Regions from separate parts of the Homo sapiens genome. Here region 2 is linked to region 1. Evidence: promoter capture Hi-C in human tissues and cell types (Jung and others, 2019). All regions are on one chromosome and are shown on one strand. Each heading gives the region's core, a stretch centred on a gene start or on the middle of the fragment in contact. The rest is flanking DNA. Distances are from core to core; before and after follow the strand shown. Region 1 holds the start of CEACAM5 (CEA cell adhesion molecule 5). Region 2 holds the start of LOC105372405 (a long non-coding RNA gene).

The links. Contacts are between HindIII fragments. The study calls those that stand out against the background at their distance.
Region 2: a contact is called between a fragment that was not itself captured here and the fragment with the promoter of CEACAM5 in region 1, in 1 of the 25 tissues and cell types used here (mesendoderm cells).

Annotation. Positions count from the first base shown.
Region 1 is chr19:41,704,254-41,709,875 of GRCh38, reverse strand. It overlaps CEACAM5 (CEA cell adhesion molecule 5), which reads right to left and starts at 1,250. Exons shown (of 10, transcript NM_004363.6): 1 at 1,081-1,250; 2 at 1-196. The coding sequence starts at 1,144. RefSeq lists silencers at 2,860-2,909, 2,940-2,989, 3,010-3,129. The HindIII fragment of the contact is 20,290 bases long and covers 1-5,622 here.
Region 2 is chr19:41,659,994-41,665,902 of GRCh38, reverse strand. LOC105372405 (a long non-coding RNA gene) reads left to right here and starts at 2,653. Exons shown (of 3, transcript XR_935972.1): 1 at 2,653-2,692. The HindIII fragment of the contact is 7,122 bases long and covers 541-5,909 here.

The DNA of each region.
Region 1 (5,622 bases), core at 1-2,500:
TGAGTTCCTATTACATATCCTATAATTTGACGGTTGCCATCCACTCTTTCACCTTTGTACCAGCTGTAGCCAAAAAGATGCTGGGGCAGATTGTGGACAAGTAGAAGCACCTCCTTCCCCTCTGCGACATTGAACGGCGTGGATTCAATAGTGAGCTTGGCAGTGGTGGGCGGGTTCCAGAAGGTTAGAAGTGAGGCTAGGAGAGAGCAGAGAGCATCGGTCAATATTGGGACCTATGCATTAGGGTGGAAAAATGGGGTCCTGGGTCCTGAGCAGGTCTCTTCATCCCCCAGCCCTGGAGTGAGTGAGTGTGTGTGTGTGTGTGTGTGTGTGTGTGTCCTACTAGGTCAAGGTCAGCAGTGTGTCTCCTATTTCCTTAGCACCTCTGACCTTGGCATTTCCCTGTGTGGAATCTGCTTTTCCAGGGGTCTTCACGGCTCCCTCCCCATTGCCTTCAGGTCCTGCTCACATCAGGGCATTCTTGGGAGATCCCTTCCCTGACACCTCCTCTAGAGACCCTGGGTCTTCCTTTTCTGACCTTTCCCTGCTCTATTCCCTCCAGGGCTCTTGTCAACACCTGACCTCACATTCTAGATCTCTTTGTATGTCTGTCTTCCTCCCCATGAGAGCATGAGCTTCATGAGGGCAGGGATTTGTGTGATCTTGGTTGCACCCCAGTGCCTGGGACAGGCTGCAGATTCCTGTGGATGAGTTCATGAGGGTTCCCAGGGCCCTCCACAGCCTGGGGCTTATTTTCCAATGTCCGCGGTAGGCGGATGAGGACAGTGTTTCATGCCCTGGTTATGTTTTTATTTAAAGTGTCATCTGATGCAGTTATTATGATTTTTAAAAACGTAGTGGCCAGTGACAATTAACTAGGAAAATAGAACTCTTGAGGTTTTCCTGCCCCTTTCCAATTCCAGTTCAATTTGATTTTTCTGGTGTGACTCCTGTCCCTCTCTGATGTCCTCTTCCCTATTCAGGCTCCAACAGGAGCCCTCTGTCCGTCTCACAGCCCTGTCCTACCCAGGAGACCCCAGCTCCCTCCTCCCACCCTCTCCCAGGTTGTCCTCCCTTCACCTGTGAGCAGGAGCCTCTGCCAGGGGATGCACCATCTGTGGGGAGGGGCCGAGGGAGACTCCATGGTCTCTGCTGTCTGCTCTGTCCTCCTCTGTGGAGAAGAGCTTGAGTTCCAGGAACGTTTTGTCAAGGCTGCTGTGACTGTCTGGTCTGCTGTCCTTCCTCCCTCTGCCCTGAGTCTCTTCCTAGGGCAGGAGTACTTCTCAGCATCACGTGGGTCATGGGTGTGGTCTTTATTCAGGTGTCCTCTGTCCCCTCCCCTCTCATTTCTGCCTCTTTTGTCCCTCCTCTTTTTTCCCTTCTATTTTCAGTTCCTCAGACAAATCTTTTCGGCAAGGTGGATGGACCCCCATCCCCTGGGAGGACAACCTGTCTTCCCCAGTGCTGACCTCTGCTGTGTTCTGTCCTTGGGTCTGTCACACCAGGGGGATTATTTTCCTTTGTGACAGAGAAACCCAGCAGGGTCCCGGGTCTCCCCATGCTCTCCAGGGCTCTGGGAAGGTGGGATGATGCCCAACAGGAAGGTGACAGAGGTGGCTCTGGGGGCTAGAAAAAGGCTCACTGGGTGGTGGCTGGGGAGGGACCAGCCCTCTGTCTCCAGTACCACCAACCCCGCCACTGACCCAGGGATGGAGACCCAGGCCCAGAGGTCTCAGGAGTCCCCAGATCCTGCATGTGGAGGGGGAGGTGTCTTGTGTGTCCTGGAAAGAGAGGACTGTGGTGGAGGGAGGTGGGTGACTCTGGGCTCTGCTGTCCTTGGGGAAGGCTCCAGGGGGACCCTCCCTCTCCGTGTCTGTTGGCTGAGCTGCGGCTCAGGGCCTGTCCATGTTCTCCCTGACAGTCCTGGGTGGTCTCTGTCCTCTGCGAGGCTGACTGTCCTGTGATCACCCCACCTTCCCCATGGTGGTACCAGGAGGGAGTCTGGAGTTGCACAGGGACCCCTGGCAGAACAGGGTCCTCATAGGACCCAGAAAGGAACAGAGCAGGTATGTGGGAGAGATCAGAAGGGTCTGTTGGAGCAAGGGATGGAAACCAGGCTCCACCTCCACTTCCTTAGCAAAGCCAGGTTCCTGTCCAGGGGAATCCGTTTCCTGAGTGATGTCTGTGTGCAATGTCACCCCCTGGAGGGCAAGAGGAGACCTCCGGCCTTGTCTGGAACTGCCCTAGGGATGCTGACCAGGGTCGACGTGGTGTGAGCTGACCCTGAACTCTGGATTAGGCTGCAGGGTCAGGCCGGAGGATCTATTCCCTGCAGGCCTCTGTCCTCCCTTCTGAAGCTCTGGGGGTTGAGGCCTCATTCCTGGGGCAGCCGCGGGCACTTGCTGGCCTCCTCCCATGCTGGTGCCAGTGCCCCTGTGTCCACATGGAACAGACTCTGACTGCTGGGGGCCACACGGAGGTGATATGCTTCTTTTTAGAGATCTCCCACACATTTAACCAGTATTTATGGAGCATCTGTTCCGTGTCAGGCACTGGGCTGGGCCCTGGGATTCCACAGAGAGCAGGACAGACGTGGTCCCTGTCACAGAGTTTTCCTGTAACCGGGAGACAGGCGCTCAGTGAACTTCATGGGACTGAGGAGTTAATGGTAATGACAGGGCTGTGAGGTGACAGCATAGGGGGCGTCGGAGCCTGTGAGAGACTGAGCTGTCCTGGAGATCACAGGGAGCTGCCCTGGGAGACGCCCTTTCAGCTGAGCCCGGGGAAGGAGGGGGTGTAGGGGACAGGAGCTGCCTGCAGAGGGCAGCCGACAGGCCTCAAGTGGGCGGCCGACAAGCCTCAGGTGGGCGGCCGATAGGCTGCAGGGAGGAGCTGACAGAGTCCGTGTGAGGAGCTCGGAGGGCGAGGAGGACGTGGGCCGAGGTGACCCGGGTGAGGGTGGACCCTGCTGGGCTGTGGGCCCGGCTGAGGGAGGTCAGCAGCCCCTGGGGAGGCTCCAGGGTGGGAGGAACTCTGCCGCCCTCTGGTGGACAGGAGGGAAGTGGGGACAGCAGCGGCCCCAGACCAGGCTGTTTTACTCAACACTGATCTCTAGACATTGAACACGGGTCATGCACATGTTATGCCAAAGTGCTACCAGGTTTCAGCTCGGTGAGCCCCAGTCTCTGTGGCTACAAGTGTACTGTCCTCCCTCTTTCACAATCAGATGTCCCCAAATGCAGATTTTTGTCACCTTTTGTGACTTTGCTTTTGTCGGCAGGAGGCTGCGCTGTGCATGCTCCCAGGGGCAGTGATGTCTGGGGCTAAGCGTGTGCGGGGATCTGGGAGTAGAAGATTGTATTAGTCTGTCCTCGCATTGCTATAAAGAAATACCTGAGACTGGGTAATTTATAAAGAAAAGAGGTTTAATTCGCTCATCATTCTGCAGTTGTACAGGAAGCATAGTGGCTTCTGCTCCTGGGGAGGCCTCAGAAAACTTACAATCATTCTGGACGGTGAAGGGGAAACAGGAACGTCTTACATGGCAGAGCATGAGTAAGAGAGAGAGAGAGAGAGGGGAGAGGTGCTACACACTTTTAAACAACCAGATCATGTGAGATCTCTATCACAGAAACAGCATCAAAGCAGAAAATCCACCCGCATTATCCAATCACTTCTCACAAGGCCCCACCTCCAACATTGGGGTTTACAATTTGACATGAGATTTGGGCGGGGACATAGATCCAAATCATATTTGAGAGAGAGGGGCATGAGGAGAAGGTGAATGTTGGGGTAGCAGAGAGGAGCAGGGACAAGTCAACCTCACTTCTCACTCCCTGGGGACCAGAACAGGAGAGCCCGACTCTGGGGGCACAGCACCACACACTCTGTGTGTCCGTGCATCAGGGGAGGTGGGAGCTGCTTCTCTGTTCATGGGACCTGGCCTCACCTGCTGAGATGTCTTCACACTTAGTCCCATCCTGGGCTGCAGCCCCACAGAGCCTGTGTCCTCCTCTCCTCTCCTGCCCATTCCTGGATTTTTCTTCCTGAACCATCTTCTCCCATCTGTGGCTTCACCTGCTCCCGTTTCAGGCAGCTGCCCCTGGATCATTGCCCTGTCACCATCTCTGGGCTCACTGGCCTCTGCCATTTGTTCTGAGACTTGAGCCCTGAGCCCTGAGCCCTGTGAGGGAGGAAGAGTGAAGTGGGGTGGGCGCTGTCCAAGGTGCTGCCCTCTCTGGACAGCTTGAGTGAGGGACCCTGATGTGTCACCTGGGAGGAGGCTCCGGGAGGGAGCTGTGTCAGGGATGCCTGGATCAGGGGGATGGGGCACCTACACCAGGGTGAGCTGGACCTGTGGACTGCAGGAACCCTGCTCTGTGTCATCCATCAGCTCCTCGAGCCCCGTCTTCCTCTCTGTACCTGATTCTCTGGTGTGATCCCTGAGCCCGCGCTAGAGTCCTCCTCACAATGCCTAATGGTCAGATCTATGTGTGGAGACCTAACGGTGGGGGGGTGGGGAGGTCTCGTGTGCTCACACAGAGTGCCCTGGGGACAGGCTTTATGACCTCCCTTGTCCCAATCCCACAACAAGATCTGGACAGTGGGCCGGGTCAGATAAAGTCAGAATCCACGAGAAGGGTGTGTGTCCTGGCAGTGCTGAGGTTTGTGCCCCCAGCTTTACTCTCAGTCTGTTTGCAGATACATTTATGTTGTGCACCTGCAGTTGGCTGGGAAGCCTCATGTCCTTAAATCCTTAGTTATTCCTGTGCAGGTCATGAGGGGCCTGTACCTGGGTACAATGAGGACTATCTGATTAGGGTGGGTGTATTTTACATGGTGGGCTTTCCCTCTCCCAGTGTTTCTTGGATGTAGTCAAATACATAAGATAAAATATGCCACATTAATCATGTTAAGTGTACAATTAAATGCCGTTAATTATATTCACAATATTCTACATCCTCACCACTATATTTTTTTTTCCAGAACATTTTCATCATCTCACATAGAAACTTCATACTATTAATCATTAACTCTCCACCTTCCCCTGCCCCTAGCCCTTGGTAGCCACTGATGCTATCTTTCTCTTTTTTTTTGAGACAGAGTCTCATTCTGTCACCCAGGCTGGAGTGCAGTGGTGTGATCTCGGCTCACTGCAACCTCTGCCTCCCGGGTTCAAGCAATTCTCCTGCCTCGGCCTCCCAGAGGCACCTAGGTGACCTAACTCTTAAGAGCCTGGGGCCGGCAGGTGGGTGTCCTAGGCATAAATGGTGCCCACTGGACTGGAGGAAGGTGAGAAGCCATGGGTATTCCATGTCTTCTCCCAGCTTCCCAGCTCCTGGGTTGGTGCTGTCCTGCAGTAGGCAGTGGGTAGATGGGCATGGCTGCACGTTAGGCTGGGAAACATGTCGTCCTCTCAGACATTGTCACTGCAGAAGGAGGATTCTGTTCACAGGCCTGGTATGGGCATATGGGAGAGACCACCCTGTTCTCATCAGGGGCTTAGACACTGGTGTTCCCACTCCTGGTGCTGCCTCCTGCTTTCCCTGCCCTGGCCCTCAAGGAAGAGCGGCTCCTGGTCAAAGCTCCATCTCTCTCTCTGAGGCTTCAGCATGGTCTCAT
Region 2 (5,909 bases), core at 2,852-5,351, 47 kb after region 1:
GGAAATTCCTGCCCAATTGAATGGAGAATAGGAGGCTTGTTTGGAAGAATACTCCTGAAAATTTTCTTATCTGGAATTTAGGTTGGTAAGGTATTTTGATTGTCTTTGTCTTGTTTTTCCCCCATCTTTTTCTTTTCTTTTTTAACTTGTTTTATTTCCATAAGTTTTTGGGGGAACAGGTGGTATTTGGTTACATGGATAAGTTCTTTAATGGTGATTTGTGAGATTTTGTTGCACCTGTCGCCCAGACAGTATACACTGAACCCAGTTTGTAGCCTTTCATTCCTCAACCCCTTCCCACCCTTTCCTCCAAGTCCCCAAAGTCCATTGTATCATTCTTATGCCTTTGCATCCCCTTAGCTTAACTCCTACTTATGAGTGAGAACATATGATTGTTGGTTTTCCATTCCTGAGCTACTTCACTTAGAATAATAGTCACCAATTCCATTCAGGTTGCTGCAAATGCCATTAATTTATGAATGTATTCCCTTTTATGGCTGAGTAGTATTCATATATATATATAAAGAAAATATGAGATATATCTCATACTTTCTTAATCCACTCATTGATTGATGGGCATTTGAGCTGGTTCCATATTTTTTCAATTGGAAATTGCTGCTATAAATATGTGGGTGCAAGTATCTTTTTTGCATAATGATTTCTCTTCATCTGGGCAGACACCCAGTAGTGGTATTGCTGGATCAAATAGTATTTCTACTTTTAGTTCTTTAAGGAATCTCCACACTCTTTTCCATAGTGGTTGTACTAGTTTACATTCCCACCAGCAGTGTTGAAGTGTTCCCTTTTCACTGCATCCACACCAACTTCTATTATTTTTTAATTTTTTGATTATGGCCATTCTTGTGGGAGTAAGGTGGCATTGCATTATGGTTTTGACTTGTATTTGCCTGGTCATTAGTAATGTTGAACATTTTTTCACATTGGCCATTTGTATATCTTCTTTTGAGAATTGTCTATTCATGTTCTTAGCCCACTTTTTGATGGGATAGTTTGTTTTTTCTTTCTAATTTGTTTGAGATCCTTGTAGATTCTGGATATTAATCCTTTGTCAGAGGTACAGATTGTGAAGATTTTCTCTCACTCTGTGGGGTTGTCTTTTTACTCTGCTAACTATTCCTTTGGCTGTGCAAAGGCCGTTTAGTTTAATTAAGTCCCACCTATTTATCTTTGTTTTTGTTGCCTTTGCTTTTGGGTTCTTGGTCATAAAATCTTTGCCTAAGCCCATGTCTAGAAGGGCTTTTCCGATGTTATCTTTGAGAATTTTTATAGTTTCAGGTCTTAAATTTAAGTCCTTGATCCATCTTGAGTTAATTTTTGTATAAGGTGAGAGAGGAGAATCATTTCATTCTCCTACATGTGGCTTGCCAATTATCCCAGCACCATTTGTTGAATAGGGTGTCCTTTCTCCACTTCTTGTTTTTGTTTGCTTTGTCAAAGATCAGTTGGCTGTAAGTATTTGGGTTTATTTCTGGGTTCTCTATTCTGTTCCGTTGGTCTATGTGTCTACTTTTATACCAGTACAATGCTGTTTTAGTGACTATGGCCTTATAGTATAGTTTGAAATCAGATGATGTGATGCCACCAGATTTCTTCTTTTTGCTTAGTCTTACTTTGGTTACATGGGCTCTTTTTTGGTTCCATATGAATTTTCAGATTGTTTTTTCTAGTTCTGTGAAAAATGACGGTGGTATTTTGATGGTGATATGGTTTGGCTCTGTGTCCCCACCCAAATCTCATCCTGAATTGTACTCCCATAATTCCTACGTGTTGTGGGAGGCACCTGGTGGGGGGCAGTTTCTCCCATACTGTTCTCATGGTAGTGAATAAGTCTCATGAGATCTGATGGTTTGATAAGGGGAAACCCGTTTCACTTGGCTCTCATTCTCTTTTTGCCTGCTGCCATCCACATAAGATGTGACTTGCTTCTCCTTGACTTCTGCCATGATTCTGAGGCCTCTCCAGCCATGTGGAACTGCCACAGGGGCAGGGCTGCCCAAGACCATGGATACCCGTATTTTGCATCAGCATTACCTGGATGTGAGACATGCAGTCAAAGGAGATCATTTTGGAGCTTTAAGACTCGACTGCCCCCCTGGATTTTGGACTTGCATGGGCCCTGTAGCCCCTTTGTTTTGGCCAATTTCTCCCATTTGGAATGGCTGTGTTTACCCAATGCCTGTACCTCCACTGTATCTAGGAAGTAGCTAATCTGCTTTTGATTTTACAGACTCATAGGTGGAAGAGACTTGCCTTGTCTCAGTTGAGACTTTGGAATGTGGACTCTTGAGTTAATACTGAACGAGTTAAGACTTTGGGGGACTGTTGGGAAGAAATGATTAGTTTTGAAATGTGAGGACATGAGATTTGGCAGGAGCCAGTGGTGGAATAATATGGTTTGACTCTGTGTCCCTACCCAATTCTCATCTTGAATCATACTCCCATAATTCCCATGTGTTGTGGGAGGGACCCAGTGAGAGATAATTGAGTCACGGGGGCGGTTTCTTTCATACTGTTCTTGTGGTAGTGAATAAGTCTCATGATATCTGATGGTTTGATAACAGGAAACCTGTTTCTCTTGGCTCTCATTCTCTTTTTGCCTGCTGCCATCCACATAAGATGTGACTTGCTTCTCCTTGACTTCTGCCATGATTCTCCCCAGCCACGTGAAACTGTGAGTCCAATTAAAGCTCTTTCTTTTTCTTTATTTTTAAAAAATTATCCTTTAAGTTCTGGGATACATGTGCAGAACGTGAAGGTTTGTTACTTAGGTATAAATGTGTCATGGTAGTTTGCTGCACCCATCTACCCGTCATCTACATTAGGTATTTCTCCTAATGCTATCCCTCCCCTAGCCCTCCACCCCTGACAGGCTCCAGTGTGTGATGTTCCCCTCTCTGTGCCCATATGTTCTCATTGTTCAACTCCCATTTATGAGTGAAAACAAGCGTGTTTGGTTTTCTGTTCCTGTGTTGGTTTGCTGAGAATAATGGTTTCATTTCATGTCCCTGCAAAGGGCATGAACTCATTCTTTTTTATGGTTGTATAGTATTCCATGGTGTATATGTGCCACATTTTCTTTATCCAGTGTATCATTGATGGGCATTTGGGTTGGTTCCAAGTCATTGCTATGGTGAATAATGCTGCAATAAACATACGTATGCATGTGTCTTTATAGCAAAATGATTTATAATCCTTTGGGTATATACCCAATAATGGGATTGCTGGGTCAAATGGTATTTCTGGTTCTAGATCTGTGAGGAATCACCACAGTGTCTTCCACAATAGCTGAACTAATTTACATTCCCACCAACAGTGTAAAACATTCCTATTTCTCCAATCCTCTTCAGCATCTGTTGTTTCCTGACTTTTTAATGATCACCATTCTAACTGCCATGAGATAGCATCTTACTGTGGTTTTGATTTGCGTGTCTCTAATGACCAGTGATGGTTTGGCTCTGTGTCTGTTCATATGTTTTTTGGCCGCATAAATGTTGTCTTCTTTTGAGAAGTGTCTGTTCATATCCTTTGCCTACTTTTTGATGAAGTTGTTTAGTTTTTTCTTGTAAATTTATTTAAGTTCTTTGTGGATTCTGGATATTAGCCCTTTGTCAGATGGATAGATTGTAAAAATTTTCTCCCATTCTGTAGGTTGCCTGTTAATTTTGCTGATAGTTTCTTTTGCTGTGCAGAAGCTTTTAGTTTAATTAGATCCTATTTGTCAATTTTGGCTTTTGTTGCCATTACTTTTGGTGTTTTAGTCATGAAGTCTTTGCCCATGCCTGTGTCCTGAATGATATTGTCTAGGTTTTCTTCTAAGGGTTTTGTGATTTTAGTTCTTATGTTCAAGTCTTTAATCCGTCTTGAGTTAATTTTTGTATAAAGTGTAAAGAAGCGGTCCAGTTTCAGTTTCCTGCATATGTCAAAGATCAGATGGTTGTAGATGTGTAGTGTTATTTCTGAGGCCTCTGCTCTGTTCCATTCGTCTACGTATCTGTTTTGGTACCAGTACCATGCTCTTTTGGTTACTGTAGGCTTGTAGTATAGTTTGAAGTCAGGCAGCATGATGTCTCCAGCTTTGTTCATTTTGCTTAGGATTGTCTTGGCTATGTGGGATCTTTTTTGTTTCCATATGAAATTTAAAGTAGTTTTTTCTAATTCTGTGAAGAAAGTCAATGGTAGCTTGATGGGAATAGCATTGAAGCTATACACTACTTTGGGCAGTATGGCCATTTTCACGATATTGATTCTCTCTATCCATGAGCATGGAATGTTCTTCCATTTGTTTGTGTCATCTCTTATTTCTTTGAGCAGTGGATTGTAGTTCTCCTTGAAGAGGTCATTCACATCCCTTGTAAGTTGTATTCCTAGGTATTTTATTCTCTTTGTAGCAATTGTGAAGGGGAATTCACTTATGATTTGGCTCTGTTTGTCTATTATTGGTGTATAGATGTGCTTGTGATTTTTGCACATGGATTTTGTATCCTGAGACTTTGCTGAAGTTGTTTATCAAGGAGTTTTGGGGATTAGACAATGGGATTTTCTAAATATACAATTCATGTCATCTGCAAACAGAGACAATTTGACTTCCTCTCTTCTTATATAAATACCCCTTTTTTCTTTCTCTTGCTGATTTCCCTGACCAGAATTTCCAATACTATGTTGAATAGGAGTGGTGACAGAGGGCATCCTTGTCTTCTGACGGTTTTCAAAGGGAGTGTTTCCAGCTTTTGCCCATTCATTATGATACTGGCTGTGAGTTTGTCATAAACAGCTCTTATTATTTTGAGATATGTTCCATCAGTACCTAGTTTATGGAGTGTTTTTAGCATGAAGTTGTGTTGAATTTTATCAAAGGCCTTTTCCGCATCTATTGAGATAATCATGTGTTTTTTCTCACTGGTTCTGTTTATGTGATGGATTACGTTTATTGATTTGCATATGTTGAAACAGCCTTGCATCCCAGGGGTGAATCTGACTTGATCATGGTGGATAAGCTCTTTTTATGTGCTGCTGGATTCAGTTTGCCAGTATTTTATTGAGGATTTTTGCATCAATGTTTATCAGGGATATTGGCCTGAAATATTATTTTCTTGTTGTGTCTCTGCGAGGTTTTTGTATCAGGATGATGCTGGCCTCATAAAATGAGTTAGAGAGGTGTCCCTCTTTTTCTAGTGTTTGTAATAGTTTCAGAAGGAATGGTACCAGCTCGTCTTTGTACCTTTGGTAGAATTTGGCTGTGAATCCATCTGGTGCTGGGCTTTTGTTGGTTGGTAGGCTATTACTGCCTGTCTCAATTTCAGAACTTGTTATTGGTCTATTTTTTTTTTTGGTTGGTAGGCTATTAATTACTGCCTCAATTTCAGAACTTGTTATTGGTCTATTCAGGGATTTGACTTCTTCATGATTTAGTCTTGGGAGGGTGTATGTGTCCAGGAATTTATCTATTTCTTCCAGATTTTCTACTGTATTTGCATAGAGGTGTTTATAGTATTCTCTGATGGTAGTTTGTATTTCTGTGGGATCAGTGGCGATATCCCCTTTATCATTTTTTATTGTGTTTGTTTGATTCTTCTCTCTTTTCTTCTTTATTAGTCTGGATAGTGGTCTATCTATTTTGTTAATCTTTTTAAAAAACCAGCTCCTGGATTCATTGATTTTTTGAAGGGTTTTTCATGTCTCTATCTCCTTCAGTTCTGCTCTGGTCTTAGTTATTTCTTGTCTTCCACTAGCTTTTGAATGTGTTTGCTCTTGCTTCTCTAGTTCTTTTAATTGTGATGTTAGGGTGTCAATTTTAGATCTTTCCCACTTTCTCATGTGGGCATTTAGTGCTACAATTTCCCTCTAAACACTGCTTTATCTGTATCCCAGAGATTCTGGTACCTTGTGTC